Linked DNA regions of Homo sapiens: all the other regions are linked to region 2. The links are contacts of gene promoters, found by promoter capture Hi-C in blood cells and fetal thymus (Javierre and others, 2016). All regions are on one chromosome and are shown on one strand. The core of a region is centred on a gene start or on the middle of the fragment in contact, and the rest is flanking DNA. Distances in the headings are between cores, read along the strand shown. Region 1 holds the start of TBRG1 (transforming growth factor beta regulator 1). Region 2 holds the start of RPUSD4 (RNA pseudouridine synthase D4). Region 3 overlaps CCDC15 (coiled-coil domain containing 15). Region 4 holds the start of TMEM218 (transmembrane protein 218).

Region 1 (5,644 bases), core at 1,267-3,766, 1.6 Mb after region 2:
CCCTAATTAGTATAGCCTTTGGCAAAGAAAAAGGCATACTGCTTAAATCCTTATATGCTTAAATTAAATACTATAAATATGAAAACTGTCTATTCCCAAGTGCCTCAACTCTTGAAAAACTTACAAAGCCAGTCTAACCCAAATAGAGAAAAACTGGACAGAACAAAATCAAATTTAGTGTGTAAAATTCTTAAACTTCACAATCTACTTATACGAATTCAAGTATTATCTTTTTTCTTTTTTTTTTTTTTTTTTTTGTAAATGATGACTCAATCTATCTCCCAAGCACCAATCCTGAAGGGAATGCTGAATCTGAATGCCCCCATAGGTGGAACTTCAAACTCTCAATGTTCAAAACAACATCGCTTTTTCTTCACAAAATCTTCATTATGTATTTGATGGAACCAATATCCTTGAAATAACATAAATTCCAAGCTTTAGGTACCTTTGACGTATAGGGGATAAAAGAAAGGGAACAGTCAATCAGATGCTAAGTTCTCTTAGTTTTACTTTTCTTGTTTCTCTCCAGTGCAAATAGCAAGCAATACACATAGCAAGTGCTGAATAAGTGCTTTTGGAATGTGTATTCTAATTTCTGAACCTTTCCTTATGCTTCCAAAAATGCTGAGAGACGTTCAAGCTTTTGGTAGAGAGAAGAGATGAACTGTTGACTTGGATGTGGGGGGACATTTGAGGACTCCACCCCTATTTCCAAGCACTGAGGCAAGCCAAACTATTCTAATATAAAGTTATGGCTGGCAAGCTATATTAAGTTTATTCACTCAATAAATCCAGTGCTTCTACAATAAAAGAAAGGAAGAAACACTTGGAACACTCAAAGGTTAGAGGGGGGAAATTACTGACAGTTTCATGTACCTCTTTGGGCAAAGGGTCAGTTATGGGGATTTGAGGTGCTCAGAAAATAGTCTGTGTACTGGAAGTCATAAAACGGAATCAGGTTTATCTAAGTTGGAGTCAGGGCTCTGACACAGTACCCTTGGGCAAATCATCTCTCTGGGCTTCAGTGTTCTCATTTTACAAATAATGCCTAATTCTCAGGGCTGTATCTCGAGAATCAAACACATTTCCTAGAGTCCTGCAGTAACAACGATGACTAAAATTTATTGGTATGTCTTTTACGCACCAAGCACTTTTCTTTACTCATTTAATATTCATTATTCTGCAAGACAGTTACTAGCTCATTTACAGATGAGGACACAGAGAAATTACGTAATTTGTCCAAGGACACAAGGCTAACAAGTAGTAACGTATACGGAAAAGCCAACACTGTATTAATACTGTCACACTGGGAAGGGGGAACAGCTTGGGGAAAGATTTTGTGAGGGAGTCTCCAGGAGGGGACCGGCTGAACGTGGGTCAGACTCACAAACACCGTGGCCTTGGCCGCTTTGCGCAGCCGCAGGTACTTCAGCCGGTACTTCTCATTCTGGCTCTTCTTCGGGAGCTTTTTCATCCTGGCCTTGCTGGACTGCAGCGGAGCCCGCGGCGAGGAAGCGAGGCCGTCCAGCAGGCTCATGGTCCAGCCCCGCTACGGGGGCCCCAGGACGCTGCCGGCATCGGATCCTAAGTCGGGGAGCGGGCGGGAGCGCTGGCTTTGTCTGTTCCGGGCTAGCGGAATCGGGCCTCTAGGAATCTAGCTCTCCGGGACGTTCCCAGGGCTGACCGCAGGGCCAGAGACACCCGCAACCGAACGGGCTCCCGGCGCCTCCCAGCACTTCCGTGTCTGTCTTGGAAGTAAGCCCTTCCCGGAAGTTACGTCCCGGTGTCGGCAGTGTGTAACTTCCGGGGCAGGGAGAGTAGGGTGGTCTGGGCGGTGCGATCGTGGGCACCGGGAGGAAAGAGACAGCTGGGGGCTAGTGCTGGATGAGGAGAGGAGGGAGGGCCGGCGGCCGTGTGCTTAGCTGAAGGGTACTATAGTTGAACCAACGAACTAACAAGAAGCTTACCAATGCGAGCTCTCATTCACGCTCCCCCGCTGGGCCACTGCGTTTTAATACGTTTTTCATGCTTCGTGCAGACAGGCTTTCCCAGACTGTAGGACAAAGTGAGCCCAAGTGCTGGGACTCTGCTTCTTTCCCTGCTTCGTTCCTTTCTGCAGCTCACAGAAATGTGTTTGCAGGGCCTCCTAATGCTATCATCTTCCCAGGAGCTGGGAACACAGTAGTGAACAGGAAGAAAGGCCTTGGCTCTTTCTAGTAGGGAAGATGAGAGATTTAACACGCAGTTTTAATACTAGCACTAAGTAGGCACTCAGTAAATGTTTGTCTAGTGAAACCAGAAGTGTATTTCTGTACATAATATGTACATGTATATGGTTCTAACTTTACAACCAAGGTCTATTTAAAATTAGGGAAGATAGAAAAATCTTTAGGGTGCGGTATTGGTAAGTGACCCAGGCTGGATGGCAGAAGGCTTGCTTGCATCTTCTTCCAGCGATGCCAATAACTAGTTCAGTAACTCTCTAGTTTTTTCTCTCAAAAAAAAAATTTGCTGTTCTGCTGTATTTTGTCCTTGCGGGCTTTGGGGTCTGACTTTATTTGTATTATTTATTTTCATATACATGTATCACATCTAGGGGGAAGAAAAGTGCTATCCTTTGTCCTAGTTTGCAGGCTGTTTTGGCCAATGGACTTTAGTGGGATTTGCATGAAGATATTTTTTGTTTCTTCTTCATTGGACACATTTCCTTACACTTACAAAACATTTCATTCGAACTTTAGAAATTTAGAAAATATAGTACAAGAAAGGTTTAAAAATCCATAATGCTACCACTTGGAATGAACTACTTTTACCATGTTAGTATATGTGTCTAATATTTTATGCATTTTTGTATAGGTTAGACAATACTGAAAATAAAGTTTTCTTTTTGTTCATTTACCATTGTATCATTTCAGTTTCACAAATGTTAGTATAGCTTCCTTATAAGCATAATTTTAAGTGGCTGGTTAATATTCCAGTTATGGCTATATTATATTTTGCATAATTATTTCCATGTTCTTTGACTTTTTGGTCAATTCCATTAAAAGCATATCTTTGCGTCCAAAGCTTTTTCCATATAGGACTGTTCAGAGGCTGGATATGTGTGCTCCACAAAGGTCATGCCACTGAGCAACTCATTCAGTCCTTATTTGTTTAGAAGAATATTTACCTAGTGCCTATTATGATACCACCTTTAAGAACCTTAATTTAAGAAGGAAAGACAGACAAGTAAATTGGCAATGTTAATATGGTATAATAAGTTTGTTTCAGAGGTAGGTTTTATTTTATTTGGCAGCACTCAGGGAAGGAGGGAGGAGATAGGAAAGGTTTCTTAAAGGAGATACATCTGGGCAGACTCTGAAGGAGAGGTAGTGGTTGGTTGGCCCAGTGAAGAACAAAGGGGGGCATGCTGGATGGTGGAGACAGCATATGCAAAGGCTCAGTATGGGAACTGCAAGTAGTTGATCAGTGTGAAAGATGTGTGTAGAGAGAAGCAAGAAGAGAGACTGAAGCAGTAAGTAGGGTTTTTTGGGTCATGAAAAGTCTTGTGTACCAACTGAAGAGTTGGACTTTGACCCAGTGACAATAGGAAACCATCTATCAGCTCTTTGCTTGTGTTAGGTAAACTTACCTGAATCTGTCAGAAGCAACACAACTTTTCTACTTAACTATACGAAGAAGGGTCTAAATGGCCTATGCAAAAATTCTTTAAAGAAATGCATAATGTGTAGCTCTAAAAAGAAATATAAAATGGCAGACAGCATGATATTGTGTCTGAGTGTGGTCTTTGAAGTCAGACCAAAGTTCCATTAACTACAGGCATAGGAATGGGAGTTAGAAGCTAAAATAGGGTAATAAATCAGAAGAGAAAGAAGTTCAATAGCACTTTACTGTCTACCCATTTGTAAGTGCTTGCTATTCAGTGATTAGCTGTAAGGGAAGGCATAGTATCCTCTGGAGTATTAAAAGCATACCTGGCTCCGTTAACAGTTGTGAAGAAGTCCATAGCCCATAATCCCAGCCCCTGGTGAAATGAGTTCCTGGTTTAGATGGTGAAAAGTGTATCTGGGCACCTGAAGGCTCCACTCACGGCTGAGACATGGCCCCAGCCTTGTTCTACTATGTCCTTACATCCTAAGAGCAGATTACAAATTGAAGCCATCATCTCCCAGCACTTTGGAGGCTACAGAGGACTTGGACAAGGTTGATAACTTCTACAAAGCAAGCTGGGTAAATTCCTAGGATTTCAGGCCACACCAAAGGGTTTCCAGGGGTTTACATCTTTATTAATCTTTTGCCAGATTGCCTCACTTGCTCTCTGGGGTAAGCTGAATGTGCGTTCAAGAAAGGATATGGAATTGCCTCCATAAACGGACTTTAGAATCTTCTTTCCTTGCAGCATGTCTAGACTGTATTTCTTTTTATTTATACTATCCTCATAGAATGTTCTAGACTTAATTTTTTAGCTCTTTGACTCTTCGGCTCCAGCTTTCACATTTATTTCCATGTCTTGGTTATGTCTTCTCACTTTTAGGATAACATGATAAAAGATATATGATTCAGTTAAATCCAAGCTTAGCAGTTTTAAAATGTGTAATTTTTTGGTGTGTATGTGTATTAGTGTGCATGTCTTATGAGGAAGGAGAGAGACTTTCCACAAGCTTTCTTGCTCCATGGTTTCTTAACTATGGGTGTTCATCACATGCCGAGTTGGTGAGGTGTTTGGGTTTTGAGGGTTCTAAGCCAGCCAATAAAGTCATAAAATCAACTACTGTGTCAATATTGTGCTTCTGGGTGGTTGTATCCTTCAACACACATAAGACACTCAGCCAGCTAAAAGAGATGAGCTCAGAGATGTTAGCTCGGAGGAAAAGAAGGATCACATTGAGGTCATTGATGGGACATCCTAGCATCTTTCTGCTGAGGAGATCAAAAGCTGGGAGCATCTCATAGACAGATAAAAGTCGTTTGTCCCACCGACATAGCCGTGTGAGGTTGTATATTATCACTGGAACCAATATGGTGTATATTGCTACACTGGAGAGGCTAACAATCTGGAAAATGGACAGTGATGTCAGCCTGCATGTGATCAGATTGGGGACATGGGTCTCATCACTTAGCAGCCCTGTCTTGATGGAGCAGCTGAATTCTTCCTGGAAGAAGACATCCAGATGGAAATGACCAAGGTATAGGTAAGTGGCGGAGGTGAAGATGAGCAAGAGGGAGTTCCTCAGGAGGTAGGTAGCCACTAGCGAATGTGAACGCTGCTTACATGCCAGGTACCGCTCTAGCAAAGGGAATTCAAAGTATCGTTCTTTCCGAGCCCTGGGCAGTGGAAGGAAGGAGGCAAGGTTAGTAGTGACCATTTAGAACCATACTCTAAGAGAGGCATGTGACAAAGTAACAGATCTGTTTTCAACATGGCATTCTTGGTTCCCATGAAAATCTGTCTTCCCGAGCATAACCATGCTTCTCCCCCAAACTGAGGCATATGAGTATATCTTGATTCTCCAAGTACTTACTGCAATGTGATAAACCCAGTGAATGATCAGTGAGTAATGATTTATTACACTGGATTTCTGCCAAGCAAGGCGGACTAAAGTTCTAAGCTGAAGTAGGATCTTTAGGTAGCAATAGGCTTATG
Region 2 (5,369 bases), core at 2,519-5,018:
CAGAAATCTTAAAAGTATATTCCAACACCACTCAATGAAGTAACCTCCAAACATAAACATTAGCTCAGTGGCAAAAAGTTAAATTCTGGGGACAAGAGCAGAATCCAGTTTCTTAGTATCAATGCTAAATGTATTCAAGATAAATCTGAAATAAATCCCACTAATTCGGGCTGAAAGAGAAGTATTTCAGTATCAGTGGAAAATCTTCATAGACTAGAAACAGAGTTGCAAAAATCTTTCAAATGACAAAAAACTGAAGCCCAAATTATTTGTTCAAGTACGCAGCGGCTGAACTGGAACTAGTCCCACATCTCCTGGCTCCCAATGACTGTACTTTCCAGGGCACCTCCCAAGAGTTCCTGCTAATTGCCTCCTTTAATCTCTCTAAAACCATAAAACAATGTCCAAGTACTTCCTGCTCTTCAAGGAAATGGAATCGCTGGTTAATCTGCAACTAGCAAATCACAGTTTGAGGAGGCGTAACTTAACTTTATACCACTAATTAACCTTAAATTTGTGATAAACGCAAGTTCCTTTATTAGTTAGTCCTTGTTTGTTTATATTTGCGAAATACTAATGCAGCCTTTTTGTTCCTGAATAGACTAGGAAATATCTTTAAAAAGAAACTATCAAGTTCTTCTTTATATGGTTACTTTAGGGGCACATATTATGATATATCAAAATCAATGTAAATAAGTCATGTTTGAACAGAGCCGTAGTCTGCAAGAATGAAGAAATCACTAATAGAATTTCCTTCCTTGTTCTAAGAAAACATTTAGACAAGAGGAGTTCCCAACAAATGGACTGTGACATTGGCGCAGAAGTGGAAAAGTGAACTGCCTAAAAAAGGACCAGCTGAATGAGGAACAGGGAGGAGGCAATATAGAGGTAAAAAAAAAAAAACAAAAAAAAAACAAAAAAAAAAAACAGAAACAAAAGAGTTTTTTGCAGTGGCAGTATTGCAGCCAATGAGGTTTATCTGAGGGGTGATTATTGCTCTTTGAAAATTGGAAAAAAAAAAAAAAAAAAGACATGACATTTGCATAAATTCTTTTTTTTTTTTTTGAGATGGAGTCTTGCTGTGTTGCCCAGACTGGAGTGCAGTGATGCGATCTCGGCTCACTGCAAGCTCCGCCTCCCGGGTTCACGCCATTCTCCCGCCTCAGCCTCCCGAGTAGCTGGGATTACAGGCGCCTGCCACCGCGCCTGGCTAATTTTTTTTTTGTATTTTTAGTAGAGACGGGGGTTTCACCATGTTAGCCAGGATGGTCTCGATCTCCTGACCTCGTGATCTGCCCGCCTCAGCCTCCCAAAGTGCTGGGATTACAGGCGTGGGCCACCGCGCCCGGCCACATAAATTCTTTATACTGAGAACAACTCTACTTTAAATCACCAAGTGCCTAGACTCACCGGAGAAACATTAAGGATGTCATAACTTATGTACCCATACTGGCTAAAGCTGCACTGTCATACCAAACAAAAACTTTGAATTCTTTAAATTTCTCTACAAAGTTTCAACAAGACAAACCTAAAAGTTCCTTCTCCAGAAAAAAGGGACCAATATTTTTATTCTTAAGTCACTAAGTGTGTGCTTTGAGTTAACCTGAAACCCTAGAGCATAAGCTCTGTGTCACTAGCAATGACATTTGAGTTGGTTCTTCATTTTGTTTCCCGCCACAGAAGGCCAACTCTGCAAGAACAGGTGTAGTTTCTTGAATGCCATAAGGTTAGGGTAGAAACAGCCTCTCCCATCCCCGACACAAAACCATAAAAGTCCTGTACCCAAAACAAGTTTTTAATTAATGTAATGATATGAATTTAAGTCCCGATGTCAAAACTTCAGGGTCCTTGGAAAATTGAGCTTCAAGTATCTAAGTAATATGTGATGTTCAAGTGAAATTAGAACCTAGGTCTGGAGCATGGAAGGTAATAATTCTTTTAGGGTGGAATTTCTCAACTTTTATAGACCTCTGTCTTACTGGTAAATTTGCAGGGGGTGGGTGGGGAACAGGAGAAACAGATGTTTCCCAATCTCCCTTGGAAATCTTTGCATTTGTATCTGGATCTGCATTTACACCTGCCTTATAAGAGAAACGTACACAAGCCTTGCTTCTTTCCCACTTTACAAATACATCTTCCTCTACCTTCATTCTTCAGGCCAAACATTGACAGAAATAAGACAATTCAAAATGTTCAGACACACCTAGCATACATTTATGATGCACTTCAGCCATCTAACAGATATCGAGTTTACTATGTGCCAGGTGAGTGGATTAAAAAAAAAAATTCTTCCAGGGACTCACAGATCAACAGCAGCTGCCAAGAGTACGCCTTGACCTGCATAACTCAATTAATTCAAACTCAAAGGAGTTACAGTGTAGGGGGAAAAGACCAGACCTCATCACTGACCACCTAGATTGTAACTAGTTTTCCTACTATCAAACCCTTTCCTTCCCCACTATCAAACCCTTTCCTTCCCCATCTGTCCTGCATTCAACTGCCAGATTCATTTCCAGAATTCCACTTTCAAGGAGTCTCTCTGCCCTACTCGAAAAGCTTCAAAGACTCCTCACTACGTATCACCTCTAGTTCAAACTCTTCAACTTGAGTCTTCTATGAGTAGCTCCACCTGATCAACTTTGTTTCTTGTTGGTACGGCTCCCTTCTGCCAAACCCTTTAGGAGGTGTAGAACCCAAATCTAATTCAACTACCTATTCTCTAATAACTCCTCAGGCAGCCTTCATTCCAAGCAGTCTTAAAAAATTGTTCCTTCTATCGTCACAGATCCATTAGTTTTCAGGACATTCTTTCTGAACTCAGCATAAGCTTTCCTCTTAACAAATGGCAGGTATATCCCAAGTTATTTTTAACACTACCATCCCAAACAGATGTTTATCTTCCCAGCCACCCCTGAGTGAAATCAGAGGGAGTCGCCTGCAGTTCGGGCAAGGGAATCCCAACATCGCATCTCGTGAGAGGAGGTATGGTGTGGTTGCAAACTATGGAGAGGAAAAATAAAGGAAACAGGAAAAGTGAAGGTCTGTGCTCCGTTCTTTCAGCTTTTTCTTTAGGAGGAGTAGGGAAGGTAGGGAGGAGACCCCCAAGAAATGAATTCTTGAGGAAGGGCAGAAAAAACACTCACAGTGCTTCCTAAGTAGGAAATAGGTGCTGGGGGCCCTGGATAAGGGAAGGGGCCGTCATCCTTAGGAGAAGGGTACAGGTTACAACGCGAAACAAAGAGGCTGGGAGTTGGAAGATGAAGGGTGGAGAGACTACAGAGATCCGGGCATCCGATCAAGAGGGTCCCCGACGCGTCCCGCAGGGGACTGGCGGATCACCGGAGATTCAGTGGCTAAGAGGGACGGCGTCGGTGCCTAGGAGGGCTCTGGGGCGAGCGTTTATGGGACATCGCTCCTAAGGGGGCGCGGGGGCGGGGAGGAGTTTTTGAGTGGGATCGTGTACCAAAAGGAGAAACGTTTCTCAGACCAGTGCTCTTCTTGAACGGAAATCCCGGGGACGCAGAAAACGTTAAACCGTTGAGGCACCGGCATTTCCCAGCCCCAGCCCGGCTTCCCTACACACTCACCGAGTCTCCTCCAAACGCCACTGCTCCAGCTGCAGCTACCGGCCGGCGCAGCCGCACTGAGCGCGCACCGTCCCCACGTGACTCGCCCAGGCCCCACCCCGCACCACGTGACCTGCAGGGCCCACCCACTCCCGCCTCATTGTAGTCGCCCTTCTCCACGTGGTCTTGGCTCGCCCCGCCCTTCCTTGTAAGATGGCGGCGCCCAGGTGGAGCGCGTCGGGCCCCTGGATCCGGGGAAACGGCCAAGGTTGCGGGAGTCTCTTCACTCTCGTCTCAAAGCCATTTTGTGCCGCTGCCGCTGCCTCTACGGCCATAAATGCCCAGAGATTAGCGGAGAAGCTCCGAGCCCAGAAACGGGAACAAGACACAAAGAAGGAGCCGGTGAGTCCAAAGGGACCAGAACTCCCTAGAGGCAGTGCGCTCATTGGTTTCCCAGACGGGGAGTAGGTAGGAGGGTCCTCTGAGTGAAAGCGTGTGAGTCAATAGCCCGGACGCAAGGTGGGAGAATGGGGAGAAGGCGGAGGGGAGGGGTCAGTAAGGGTACGGTGTTTTCCCGTGAGCTGGATCTTTGGCTACTGTCAGGCTCAGTCCTAACCACTGCGTCGGTACGCAGGTTAGACAGATGGGTATCTCTGCTCTCAAATTAGTCGAAGGCGGCGCGGGTCTGATGCAAAGATAGTCATTCCCTACTCAGATTCTCACCCAGACCTTTATGGAAGGTCTTCTCCACGGCTTCCGCACCAGGCATTCCCCACGGCTCCTTCTTTCTCCCTAGGTGTCCACAAACGCTGTTCAGCGGAGAGTGCAAGAAATAGTGCGGTTCACACGGCAGCTGCAGCGAGTCCACCCCAACGTGCTTGCTAAGGCACTGACCCGAGGAATTCTCCACCAGGACAAGAACCTTGTGGTCATCAATAAGCCCTACGGTCTCCCTGTGCATGGTAAGGACCACGCGGGAAAGGTGGAGGAACCTGCAGCTGCTTTCTGCTACAACCGAGGAAAACTGAGACGTTACTTGTGGTGCACTCTAAAGCCTTGCATTCAAATTAATTAAACTTTTGTAAACTACCGTCCAATATAAGGAACCACCGAGAACACAGAAATAAATAAATAAGACAGTCCTCCCTTTCTAAACATCTGACAGTAAGCAATTCGTAGAATACGCTGTGTGCAGACTACAGGGATCGCTGTAGAGATATACAAAGGCTGTGTGGTTCTAGACTAAAGGTTATCTTCCATCAGAACTGGGAATGAGAAAATGATACATAAGAAAAAAGGGGGTGTGTGTGTGTGTGTGTGTGTGTGTGTGTATGTATGTTGGAGTATATGTAACATACAACCCCAGAGTGACTGGAATTTAGTGGACCTTCAAATGTCTTTCAACAGATGTTGCATGTAGTTGTCAGGGACAGCTGAAGTGAATCAGGAAAGATTGATTTAAAAAATGCATTTGTGAAAGAGGGAAAAGGCCCATTTTAGCTAGAAGAAGGTAATGCTTTTTGGGGAGATACGGAGATAGTTGTTCACAAAGACAAGGAATTAAATCACATCACCAAGTGTTTGTATAATTTTTTTCTCTCTTTATTTTCGCAACAGTTTTTTGCCTTTCCATTCCCCAATGAAGTTGTTTTCCAGATATTTACATTTTATAACGAGAAAGCAAAGTTGGAAAGAGAAGTAATGTGTCCAAGGTCAAAAAAATGGCTAGTAAGAAGAGTAGAGTAGAACCCCAGGAATGTCTAACCCCGAAGTCTATCCTCCTAATCACTCTTATTTAATGCT
Region 3 (5,539 bases), core at 2,421-4,920, 1.3 Mb after region 2:
TGTATAAATGTTTCAACATGTCAGATGAATGTTTGAAACTCTTCCAACTCCAAGATCACATGTTTCTATAACACCAACACGAGAAAACTGAGACGTGTACTAACATTCAGAAAGTGAATTATGTGTACCATTTACCCAACCAGTTCTAGATAAACTAAGGGAGTTCGTGCCTGAACTGTCTCATTGTCTAGTTTCACGGTGACATCTAGTGGATAAAAACTGCAACAGAAGTGGTAAGATCAGAAAGCATCTATTGTCATGGAGTCATATGGACAAAGTTTACAGGCTCAAAATAGTTAAGTCACTGAGCATTCTTCAGTAGTTCATGTCCTTTTAAAAAAAAAAGTGTGGGGGTATTATAAAAACTTTAAAAAATCTTGTGACATTTAAGGTTTTTCATAACCTGATTTCCTCCTCCTTATCCAACCCCATTTTTGGTTATTCTCCATTATAAACTACCAATTAGAAAGGTTCCATTACTTATTCCCAAATACACCTGGCTCATTGGAGATTCTAGGCTTTTTTTTTGTTTGGGTGGTTTTTAAGAAAAAATTATCTCGGCCAGGTGTGGTGGCTCACACCTGTAATCCCAGCACTTTGGGAGGCCAAGGCAGGCGGATCCCTTGAGCTCAGGAATTTGATACCAGCCTGGCCAACATGGTGAAACCCCATCTCTACTAAAAATACAAAAATTAGCCAGTCATGGTGGCAGGCACCTACCCCAGCTACTCAGGAGGCTGAGGCAGGAGAATCAGGAGATTCTCTTGAACTCAGGAGGAGGAGGTTGCAGTGAGCCAGGACTGCACCACTGCACTACAGCATGGGCAACAGAGTGAGACTCCGTCTCTAAGAAAAACAAATTCTCTTGAATTTACCAATACAAAATGTGTAGTTCAAGTCTATCTCTCCCATGAATTCTTCCCCTACTGTTTCCTTAAAAATTTCTGAACTCCCATAGCACAACTTTATTGCAAAACACAGAAAATCTCTCTATATTATTATCTGATACAATGAGTGGTCTATTAGTTTTGTATTTCTACCTGAAAATATAAACCCATGGAAGGTCCTATTTTACATTTCCTTAGTATCGCTACAATCCATAACAAACAGCATAGGCAAATACTGCTGACTGATGAGTTCTATTTTTGTATTAAACAGATGAAGTAAAATCCTCACTACAGTGGGACTAACAGCTACAAGCACCACGAAAGCAAGGACTGTGTCTGTCTTAAGTCAATGTTCTATTCCTTGTACTTTATGCAGTGCCTGGCTCAATAAATATTTGCTAAACAAATAAAAATGATTATTACAAACTGAACAATGACAAGAAAGAGTCAAATAGTTGTGGACAAAGAAAAAAATTTTAATAGTAGTTCAACATGATAATGTGTGCTTCTAAACTTTTCCTATTTATACTAATAGCACAATTAAATTTTGACCAAGTATGTTAAGCAGTAATACAGCTTTTATTTTCACATACTCATAATTTTCCATATTTTCTCTCTTCCTCTCATTATTTCTAGTAATACATTTTAAATAAGATGAAGAACAATTACTGAAGCAGAGTTGAAGACTGTATCAACTGGACAAAAGCTCAGGTATACTAAGGTGGGGGCTAAATGGACAGAGTCAAGCAATGTGAATGGATGAAATCTACTCACAGTGGTTAATTTTTAAATATTAGGTATATAAAATGAGTCATTAAATAAAAATTACATTTTTCCAAAAACTCTGGATATGTTACGAATTTACTATGTATTATTCTTTAACCTACAACTATAGATTCATTTATTGTGATAATCAGATTAAAAAACAAAAATAAGAAAAATGAGACAAAGATAAATAATAAATGAAATGCCACCTATGTATACTGAACTTCTTTGCAACGAAGGTAAGAATTATTTCTCTCTGTAAATTACAAACTAATAGTAGCTTGCCTAGAATATAATTTCAATATAACTTGGAAAATCCATGTTCTTGACCTAAAGTGCTTTCTAATAGGTTTTGAATTCTAGCACTTTGGCACTTTTCTTTTTTTTTTTTTTTTTTTTTTTTTTTTTTGAGACGGAGTCTCGCTGTCGCCCAGGCTGGAGTGCAGTGGCGCAATCTCGGCTCACTGCAGGCTCCGCGGCACTTTTCTTTAGATAATTTTAGAGTATCTTACCAAACACAAATGAATTTAAATTTAAAATTTTTAAAAAGCATTATCCCACTATTCCCCACTTTACAAAGCTAAAAAAAAAAAAAAAGGGGGATGATTATCAAAAGTGAAGCTGAGTGTGATAACTCTTAATCCCTACCTCATACCCTAGATGTCATATTTATAGTTTAGGGGATAGGGAAAATATCATAGACATAAAATAAAAAGAACAGGTACTTACAGCCTGGGCTTGTTGTTGGAATAATTCGTTCTGATTCTCTTCATCCTCTATTCCATCCCCAGGCATCAGGGAAGGAGGTAACCTAGAACTTCCAATAGCAACATTCAAATTGTTTGGAAAAACACTTGTCCTTTTGGAAGTTAAGTGTGTTGCTGAAGACTGCATGGCTATGGAGCCTTCTTTTTGTGCCTACACGAAAGAAGAAAGGGGGATAGTAACATTCTACCCCAATCCAGAGCAATCAAATAATGCCTCTAAAGCAGTTCAGAAGATTTTAAATTGGGGTGGGGGGCAGGGGAGAGGCTTTAGCTGGCAGAGAAACTAACATTTACCAGGCACCTCCCATGTGCTAATAATTTAGGTTATCTCATCTAACTCTCACACAATCCTATGAGAGAAGTATCATATCCTTATTTTATGGATGAAGAAACTACAATCAGTGAAGTTAAGTAATTAGCCAAAAGTCAATAGCTAGAAGTAGCAAAGCCAAAATTCAAACTCAAGTCTGAACCCAAAATTCTGACATTGCTTTTAACTACTTGGTAAAAGCAAAAAATTGAGTCAGAACACAGGAATAAAACATGGTTTCTCTACAAAAAAAATTTACTGTCTTCACTAGTTAATTAGATTATATTAGGCATGTAATCAAAGGAAAGCAATTCTGTTACTGCCTAATAGCTTATCTCATAACACACATATTTTCCATTCAATCTTTACTCAGGCTCACTTTTGAACTTACTCTTTCATAAGACTTCTGAAGCTGTTGCTTTTTTCTCAACCTAATTTGTTGATTTACTCGGTATTTAACTTGTTTCTGAAAATGTTTCAAAGCTTCTTGTTTTTTTCTTAGCTGTTCCTTTAGTTCTTCTTCAATTAAATATGCTGATGTCTTTAAAGATGAAAGACAGAAAATGAACTTAAATGTTAGCAGTTTTGTCCATTAGGGCTGTTTTAAACACAAAACAGTCAGGATAAGGATACAATCCTGAAAAAAATAATTCCATTCTGTACAAAAAAAAATGGAATGTATGAGTATCAAATCTTAAATTTTTTATTGAATTAGAACTAACGATGTCTTCATTAAATCTTAATGAACCAAATAAAACCTAACACGTTACACATTTTCTAAAATGGAGTAAATAGTCAAGACACACCAGGTTACTTACCACTCACCAAATATGTCCTATTGTTAAAATGTCTTCATATTTGGCATTATGCTCCATTTTTAACCTGGCATGCCCTTCCTTTCATCTCCACCTAGTAAAGGCCTATTCAGTTTTCACAACCATTTAATACCCACTCCCCAGTACCTTCCACAACACTCTCTCTCTAAGCCCTCTTATGCTATAACACCTCTCATTTCACCAATGTTAACTGAGTATAGTACTTCTTGACTCCCCTACTAGATTATGAACTCTTTGAGGACAGGATATGTATTCAATTCTCCTTTATTTCCCCTACGGCATCTAGTACAGAGCCTTCACTATAAGGGTAGTCAATATATATTTATATAATTGCTCAATTCCAAAACATATTCTAAACCAGGGGTGTCCAATATTTTGGCTTCCCTGGGCCATGTTGGAAGAACTGTCACATAAAATACATTAACACTAGTAGCTGATGAGAAAAAAAAAAATCACAAAAAAACTCATAGTGTTAATTAAGAAAATTTATTAATTTACATTGGGTCGCATTCAAAGCCATCCTGGGCCACATGTGGCCCATGGCCGCATGTTGGACAAGCTTGTTCTGAACAATCTGGAACACTTTATCCCATTTGAGTTCTTGATCTGCATTTATCTCCTCTAAGTGCTTTGAATAATAATCATAGTCATCATCATAACAGCACTTATCATTATTATGGATCTATCAGGTGACAAGTATTTTAACTACTTTGTAGCACTCTATCCTCAAAACCACCTTTGGCAGTAGGTATTCTTATCCCTTATGTTACAGATGAGGAAGCTGGAGTTCAGAAAGATTAAGTAATTTTAATATAGCTAACTAGTAGCAGAATTAGAAGTTTCTGACTCCAACAATTATGTTCCTCTCTACACTGCTTTTCTCTTGACTATGTCTCTCTTTCACTAGGAATTTTCAAATTAAATAAAATCATCATCATATCTCGTACCTATTCCTTCTAACTCAGTGATTCCAACTTCTAATTCTGAAGGGTACCTCAGATCATTTTACAGGCTGTCATTAAATTCTCAAAATCAAATGCATTCAAATTTCAATTTAAGTTAAAATTTCCAAGATGTCTATCCCATAAACTACTCTAGTGGAGTGTACAAGTGTCAAAGAACAATTAGGTAAAATAATTCCAACGGAGAGATATATACGTAATGAAGCCTGAACAACTGACCCAGCTTAACTCAAGCCCCAGACAAGTTTAAGCCATTCGGCCTCTTTCTTTTACCTCCATTTTCTCTGCTCCTCTTTTACTCCACAAGATTACAAGCCAGGTCATAAAGAAACTTCCACCTCTGTTCTTAGAGTGCTCATTCTGAAGGAAGTCAGCACCATATAAAAATTCAGACTACCCTGAGATTACCATGCTGTGAGGAAGCCCAAGTTAGTCAAACAGAGAAGCCATGTGAAAAGAGAAACATATCTAACCAGCACCCAGACATTCTAGTCATCCTAGGCCAAGCGTCAGATATGTGAATAAGAAAGCCATCTTGGACATTACAGCCCAGCAGGTGCCACATTACTGGGAGAACTTGACTATTGTCTAGCTCCAGCCAATAGCCGGAAAATAGTCAAGGTGTCTCAGACATGTCCAGTTATTTGAGCCCCAGCTGAGGTCCCAGACACTATGGGGCAGAAACAAGCCATTACCACTGTACCCTGCTCAAATTCCTGTTACATAGTATTATTTGCTTTATACCACTAAGTTCTGGGGTGGTTGGTTACACAGCAAAAGGTAACCAGAACAAATTATAAAATAATGCAATCCCATATATGATGATAGAACAGCAGTGTCTTTTGATGCTAATTTATTAATAATTATTGGGGGGAGGTAGTCTAAAGCTATGACATTTTTAGGAATCCTGATGGCCCCCTGAAATTTTGGGGAGAAAAATGAGTAGAAGTTCCCCTTTAGAACAGACATGATCTAAGGGCCAAGCTTTAGAAGTAACTATTCAGCATTTATT
Region 4 (5,409 bases), core at 612-3,111, 1.1 Mb after region 2:
AGCTAATGAGGAAGAAGTTGGCCGTTGAAAGAGCAACGCTGATTAGTGAATCTTAAATCACCTAAATGAAAGCCCACTTGTGATTCGCCCTAAGTAAACCAGAGCCCCGTGGGCTGGAACGCGCCGGAATCTGAGGTGTGAGTAGAGCCTGGGGGAGAGTGGATCCAGGTGAAGGGGGCAGAGGTGAGGAAAGCGGGGCGGCTGCGGGGAAGGGAGAAAAGTGGAGGGTCGGGCTGAGGTGGTTGGAAGAAGGCGTGGGCGGACGGCGGTGCACGGACCTCGCAGACCACCCTTACCGCTGATCTGGACCCAAGGCCCGGCTAATAAATACTTAATTGGAGGCAGAGAAGGAAGGACTGTTTTGTTTCATGCTCTTAAGAAAAGGAAGTGTCAGTGCCTGATTCAGATCTCTTATGACCGAGACCTTAATCCCTCTCTAGCTCCTGGGAGGTGGCCAGGTGCACATTCTGAAGACGAGACATGGGGGGCATTGTTTTCCTGTCGCCAGTTTGAATCTGCAACAGGGTTGGGGAGAAGCTTAGAGTTCAAGTGGGGTGTTCCCAGGCTGCAGTGCTGTGAGATCCAGAGAGCGGATAGACCGAGGCTCTGCAGCGCTTCCAACCCACAACACCGTCCAGGAGAGGGATGCAAGGAAGAGACCTAGGTTTACTGATCCTCCTTTTTCTATCAACGTGTTAAGAGCAGATGCTACATCGGTGGCATTTTGGGAGCTTGGCAACTGATTTTTTCCCCAGGCTTGCATTTTATCTAATTACAAAGGTAGAGGCGTTATTCTAATATTTTAAAATTCAAAAGATAGTGAAGTGTTTAAAGTAGAAACATAAAAGTGTGAAAGTAACCCCCCCCCCCCGTTATTTTTGAAGGTTTGGAAAACAGCTATAAAGCAAAGTGAAAAGGACTCTTCCAGAGGAGCACTTCACTCCTTGTAACCCACTGTTTTCTGTTGCTTTCAAGGGCTTGAGTCAGTGTGAAAATCGGGGGATGGGTGAGATATCTCCCTCCAGCAGCAGCACTTAGGCCACATTACCCTCTGAGGAATCCACATTTGTCTTAGATAGTAAGTCATCTTATAAGTCATCTTATAATGGCAGTTAGTATTCTCGCTCATGATGATCAACCTGGTGATGAGTACCGTATTTTTAATCCATTAGGTTACCTGTGCAGGGATCAGTCCATTTATTCCTATTTTCTCTGACAGCTGGATGAAAGGGTATGTAGAAACAACCATTAAATGAACACACACATCTAAAAGGTTTTGAACAAACTCTCTCAGAGAAAAACCTCACAGCATTGAGCACAGAAGGAAAACATTAGCCCTGTAGTTGCTTTTGTTGTCAGCTGCTGAACTGTTCAAATTTAAATTATTTTTTTTCACTCCAGTCTACCTGCTTTAAATGCCACAGATATTAAGTAAATGGACTTACCCTTGAAATCGGGTTGGCCAAGCCATCACTTCTCAAAGAAGGTTTAATGATGGCATGAACCCGTTTTTATATTTTATTGTATTGTACTCAATAACAATAATTTAGCTATTCTAATATGGGAAATTATCACAGATATTATTCTCACATTTAAATAAGATAAAAATGACTAGATGTTCTCTCTTCCTCTATAGCAGCACTCTATACTATACCCAGCCCTTCTTTTCTATGCTTAGTAAGAAAATGTATAGTTTGCTTATAAAATTATGAGCTCCATTCTTAAAAGAGCTTGGGAATATTTATCTTATTACTTTAAAGCCATACCATATATAAATCCAATGTCTCACGAACTCTTAAGCTACTAAGGGGGATTGAAGGGCAACATTTCTAATGGCGCCAGCCAGCTTCAACTACCATTTGCCCTCTATTCTAACTGTTAGAGTTGGTCCAAGTCTTCTGGGTTATTTGTGTAATATCCAGAATAGCACAAATTAAATTTAAATAGTTGTTTTCTTAAGAGCAGTACCATCAGCTCAGTCAACTAAGCTAGAAACTTGTGTCATTTCTAACACCTTCTCCCTTGACACAGCTAAGACTGGAGGTCAGACCCTCATCATCTCTTATCTGGAGAATTGCAATAGTTTCCTAACTGGTCACCCAATTCATATGCATCCTGCTGCCCATTACCTTTTTAAAAATTAAAAATTATCACGAAAAATTTAAAAACAGAAAATAGTACATTGGGTAGTATAATATCTATGTTCCACCAATCAGATTAATAAATATTAACATTTTGGCACACCAGCTCAAGTTTTTTATTTTAAAGAAATAAAACATCACAGATTTAGTTCAGATCCCTTTTATTTCCACTCCTAACCCCATTCCCTTTCCTTCCTCCCTCTGCAGAGGCAAATAGTCTTTTGAAATTGTCATGTATTGTTTATGCCCATGTTTTTATACTTTTGCTGTATATACGTTCGTCAGAAACAATATATATTACTGTTTAGATTGTATTTAATTTTAAAAATACAAGTAGTATCATACTGTGGGTTCCATTTTGCAACTTGTTTTTGTCACTCAACATTGTTTTTGAGATATATTCACATCAATACATATAGATCAATTTCATTCATTTTAAGTATTCATTATGAATATATAATATTGTATCTGTTCCCTGATTGATGGACATTTAGGTTTTTTCCTGATGTTTTGCTATTGTAAACAAAGCTGCAATAAACACCTTGTACATGTCTCTTTATGCAAGACTGTGTCTAGAACAGTGGTTCCCCAAGAAGATGTTGCTGCCCGTTTTAGGGTGTTTTGGAATTTGTGAAGATGTATTTTGTTATTCTTTGATTGGAGGCACTACTGGGGTTTACAGATCAGGACTGCGGATACTGGATGTTCTGTAATGTATGGGACAGTCCTCACAACGAAGAATTGTCCTGCATCCTGTGCAAATTTTGAGTATCCCACAGGATACTCATTTATAATTATCTGAGTGTAGAGCCTAACTCCGGTTTTTGTATAAACATAATGTATTTTTTGGCACAGTTTAATATAGTAAAATTTCCAGGAATGCAACTCTAATGTAAATCAGAGGAAAATTATACTTATTTGTGGTTTGGAACTTTAACAAGAGTTGTTCATCACTCTAGCAAATCACATAACTGAAGGCAGCACAGCTCGTGGTATTTGAGTTGCCAGAACAACACACCTGCATAGTCTGCATTTGAAGCTTTTGCATTCATGGTGATTCTAAGTTTAGGTGCAAGCATCTGACTACTGTACTTCATTATGTATTCTAGTGTAGTCAGCCTGAACATTTGTATATTTAAACATATGCTATTTCATTACGAATTACTTTCCATTTAAAATCAACTTCTGTATATCATATAGAGATCTAGTTTTATTCTTTTCCTATTGGAGAATCATTTGTCCCAACACTATCTATGAAGTTCTTTACCCATTGAATCATAAAGCCAACTCTGTGCTGTAGGAAGTTCTCACAAATGCATGGATCTGTTTCTGGGTTCTTGATTTTATACCACTGGGCCATGTGTCTTTGTGCCACTATCACACTGTTTTAATTACTTTGGTTTTTCAATGTGTCTTGCGGCAGTTGGTAACAAGAAAGGCAAGTTGCCATCCTAGTTCTCAAAATTGTTTTGGCTATTCTTGGGTTTTTGCTCTTCCATATGAATTTAGGATCCGTTTTCAAGTTCCACAAAAAATTGTTTTTAGACTTTGGTTAGGATTGCATTGAATTTATAGGTTAAGGAAAATTGAGATTTTTTTAATTGAACCATCCCATCCGGGAACACAGGTTATTTCTCTGTTCAGGTCTGCTTTATTTCTTTATTCAGGTCCTCTCTCTCTCTTTTTTTTTTTTTTGTCTTTGATAAAGTTTTATAATTTTAGCTATACAAATCTTACTCATCTTTTATATTCATATTTATGCAGATATATATATATATATACACACATATCCACATCTTTTTATTATGAAAGTTTAAAATATATTCAGAAATATAGAAAATAGGCTAGCAAACATCTACACACTCATCACCCAGCTTCAACAACTAGCTCATGACCAGTCTTGTTTCATGTCAGCCCCTTCACCTCCTCTCACTGAGGTAATAGAAAGCTCCTAGAAACCCTTTTCTGTTATCTGTAATGTGCTACGTGTGTATGCATATATCTTTATCATAAATAATCTTTTAACAATATAATAATATCATCTTTTTAATAGTGTTTTTTCACTGAAAATACAAACAGTAATTTCATAATATTATCAAATATCTGAATATTCTTCAGATTTCCCCAATCATTTCATAAAAGGTTTTTGCAATGCTTCGTTCGAATCAGGACCAAATAAGGGTCCATATACTACACATGGCTGATACATCTCTTAATATTCTTTCTGTAAACATTTTAGTGAAGGGTAATACACATACAGAAAAGTATATAAATCCTAAGTGCATGGTTAGATACAACATCACCGTATGAACAAACCCAGGTGAACAAAACCCAGATCAAGAAACAGAATTTTATCAGCATCTCCCTGAACCTCCTACAGTCACTATGTTTCACAAGCCAACCATACGCCTGACCTCCAGCCCCTAAAATTAGTTTGACCTGTTTTGAACATTATATAAATGGACTCATATACTATGAACTCTTTAGCCTCTAGCTTTTTTCATTTAATATTTGTGAAATTCATCCACATTGTTGAGTATAGTTGTAGTGTGTTCTTTCTCATTGCTTTATACTATTCTCATTGCTTTATACTACATAATGCTTTATATACTGTATGAATGAATAGATTGTAGAGTACTATATCCACTCTATTGGCAGATATTTGGATTGTTTAAGGTTTTAGCTATTTCAGGTAGGGCTGCAATGTCTTTTTTTTGAATTTAGGTGTGCGTTTCTGTTGGGAATACACCTAAGAATAGAAGAGCTGGATGTAGGATGCATTTATATTTAGCTTTATTAGATACTGCCAATAGTCTCCAAAGCAGTGGTTAACAAATTATGGCCCTTGCCAGCCGTATATGAGGGTTCCAGTTACTCCACATCTTTGTCAACACTTGCTGTTGTCTGTTGTTTTCATGTTAGCCATTCTGGTGGGTATATGAAGGCACTGAATTTGGTTTTAATTTGCAATTTCCGGATGACTAATGAAGTTGAGCACCTTTTTACATATTTATTCTCATTCAGGTATCCTCTTTCTCAAGTGTTTATTCTTTTTTTATCTGCTTGATCTATCAGTTTCTGAGACATATATTAAAATCTCCTGCTAAATTAGTGGTTTTATACATTTATTGTAGTACTTCTGTCAGTTTTGGCTTTATATATTTGGAGGTTTTGTTGTTAGGTTCACATTTGTTTCAGGTTGTATCTTTTTACTGAATGGTTCCTTTTGTCACTGTTCTTAATATTTTTCAGAGCTTTACATCTGTTT

The links. The method cuts DNA at HindIII sites, captures the fragments that hold promoters and counts their contacts. A CHiCAGO score of 5 or more calls a contact.
Region 1: a contact is called between a fragment that was not itself captured here and the fragment with the promoter of RPUSD4 in region 2, in 1 of 17 cell types (total CD4 T cells). The highest score is 6.7, in total CD4 T cells.
Region 3: a fragment that was not itself captured here is called in contact with the fragment with the promoter of RPUSD4 in region 2 in 1 of 17 cell types (total B cells); the score reaches 6.8 in total B cells.
Region 4: a fragment that was not itself captured here is called in contact with the fragment with the promoter of RPUSD4 in region 2 in 4 of 17 cell types (activated CD4 T cells, neutrophils, fetal thymus and 1 more); the score reaches 7.4 in activated CD4 T cells.

Annotation. Positions count from the first base shown.
Region 1 is chr11:124,618,977-124,624,620 of GRCh38, reverse strand. It overlaps TBRG1 (transforming growth factor beta regulator 1), which reads right to left and starts at 1,757. Exons shown (of 9, transcript NM_032811.3): 1 at 1,388-1,757. The coding sequence starts at 1,537. It overlaps LOC124902779 (a long non-coding RNA gene), which reads left to right and starts at 1,420. Exons shown (of 2, transcript XR_007062932.1): 1 at 1,420-5,644. PANX3 (pannexin 3) reads right to left here. Exons shown (of 4, transcript NM_052959.3): 4 at 4,265-5,325. The coding sequence ends at 4,686. RefSeq lists an enhancer at 1,611-1,680. The HindIII fragment of the contact is 1,104 bases long and covers 1,965-3,068 here.
Region 2 is chr11:126,210,049-126,215,417 of GRCh38, reverse strand. It overlaps RPUSD4 (RNA pseudouridine synthase D4), which reads left to right and starts at 3,768. Exons shown (of 7, transcript NM_032795.3): 1 at 3,768-3,968; 2 at 4,363-4,528. The coding sequence starts at 3,780. It overlaps FAM118B (family with sequence similarity 118 member B), which reads right to left and starts at 3,636. Exons shown (of 9, transcript NM_024556.4): 1 at 3,588-3,636. It also overlaps the pseudogene RNU4-86P. RefSeq lists an enhancer at 3,754-3,983. The HindIII fragment of the contact is 5,382 bases long and covers 2,830-5,369 here.
Region 3 is chr11:124,956,846-124,962,384 of GRCh38, reverse strand. It overlaps CCDC15 (coiled-coil domain containing 15), which reads right to left. Exons shown (of 16, transcript NM_025004.3): 3 at 3,121-3,270; 4 at 2,382-2,570. Among named protein-coding and RNA genes, the nearest start is that of CCDC15, 5.4 kb to the right of the region's middle. The HindIII fragment of the contact is 912 bases long and covers 3,215-4,126 here.
Region 4 is chr11:125,106,313-125,111,721 of GRCh38, reverse strand. TMEM218 (transmembrane protein 218) reads left to right here and starts at 96. Exons shown (of 5, transcript NM_001258244.2): 1 at 96-183. RefSeq lists an enhancer at 312-401. The HindIII fragment of the contact is 2,643 bases long and covers 540-3,182 here.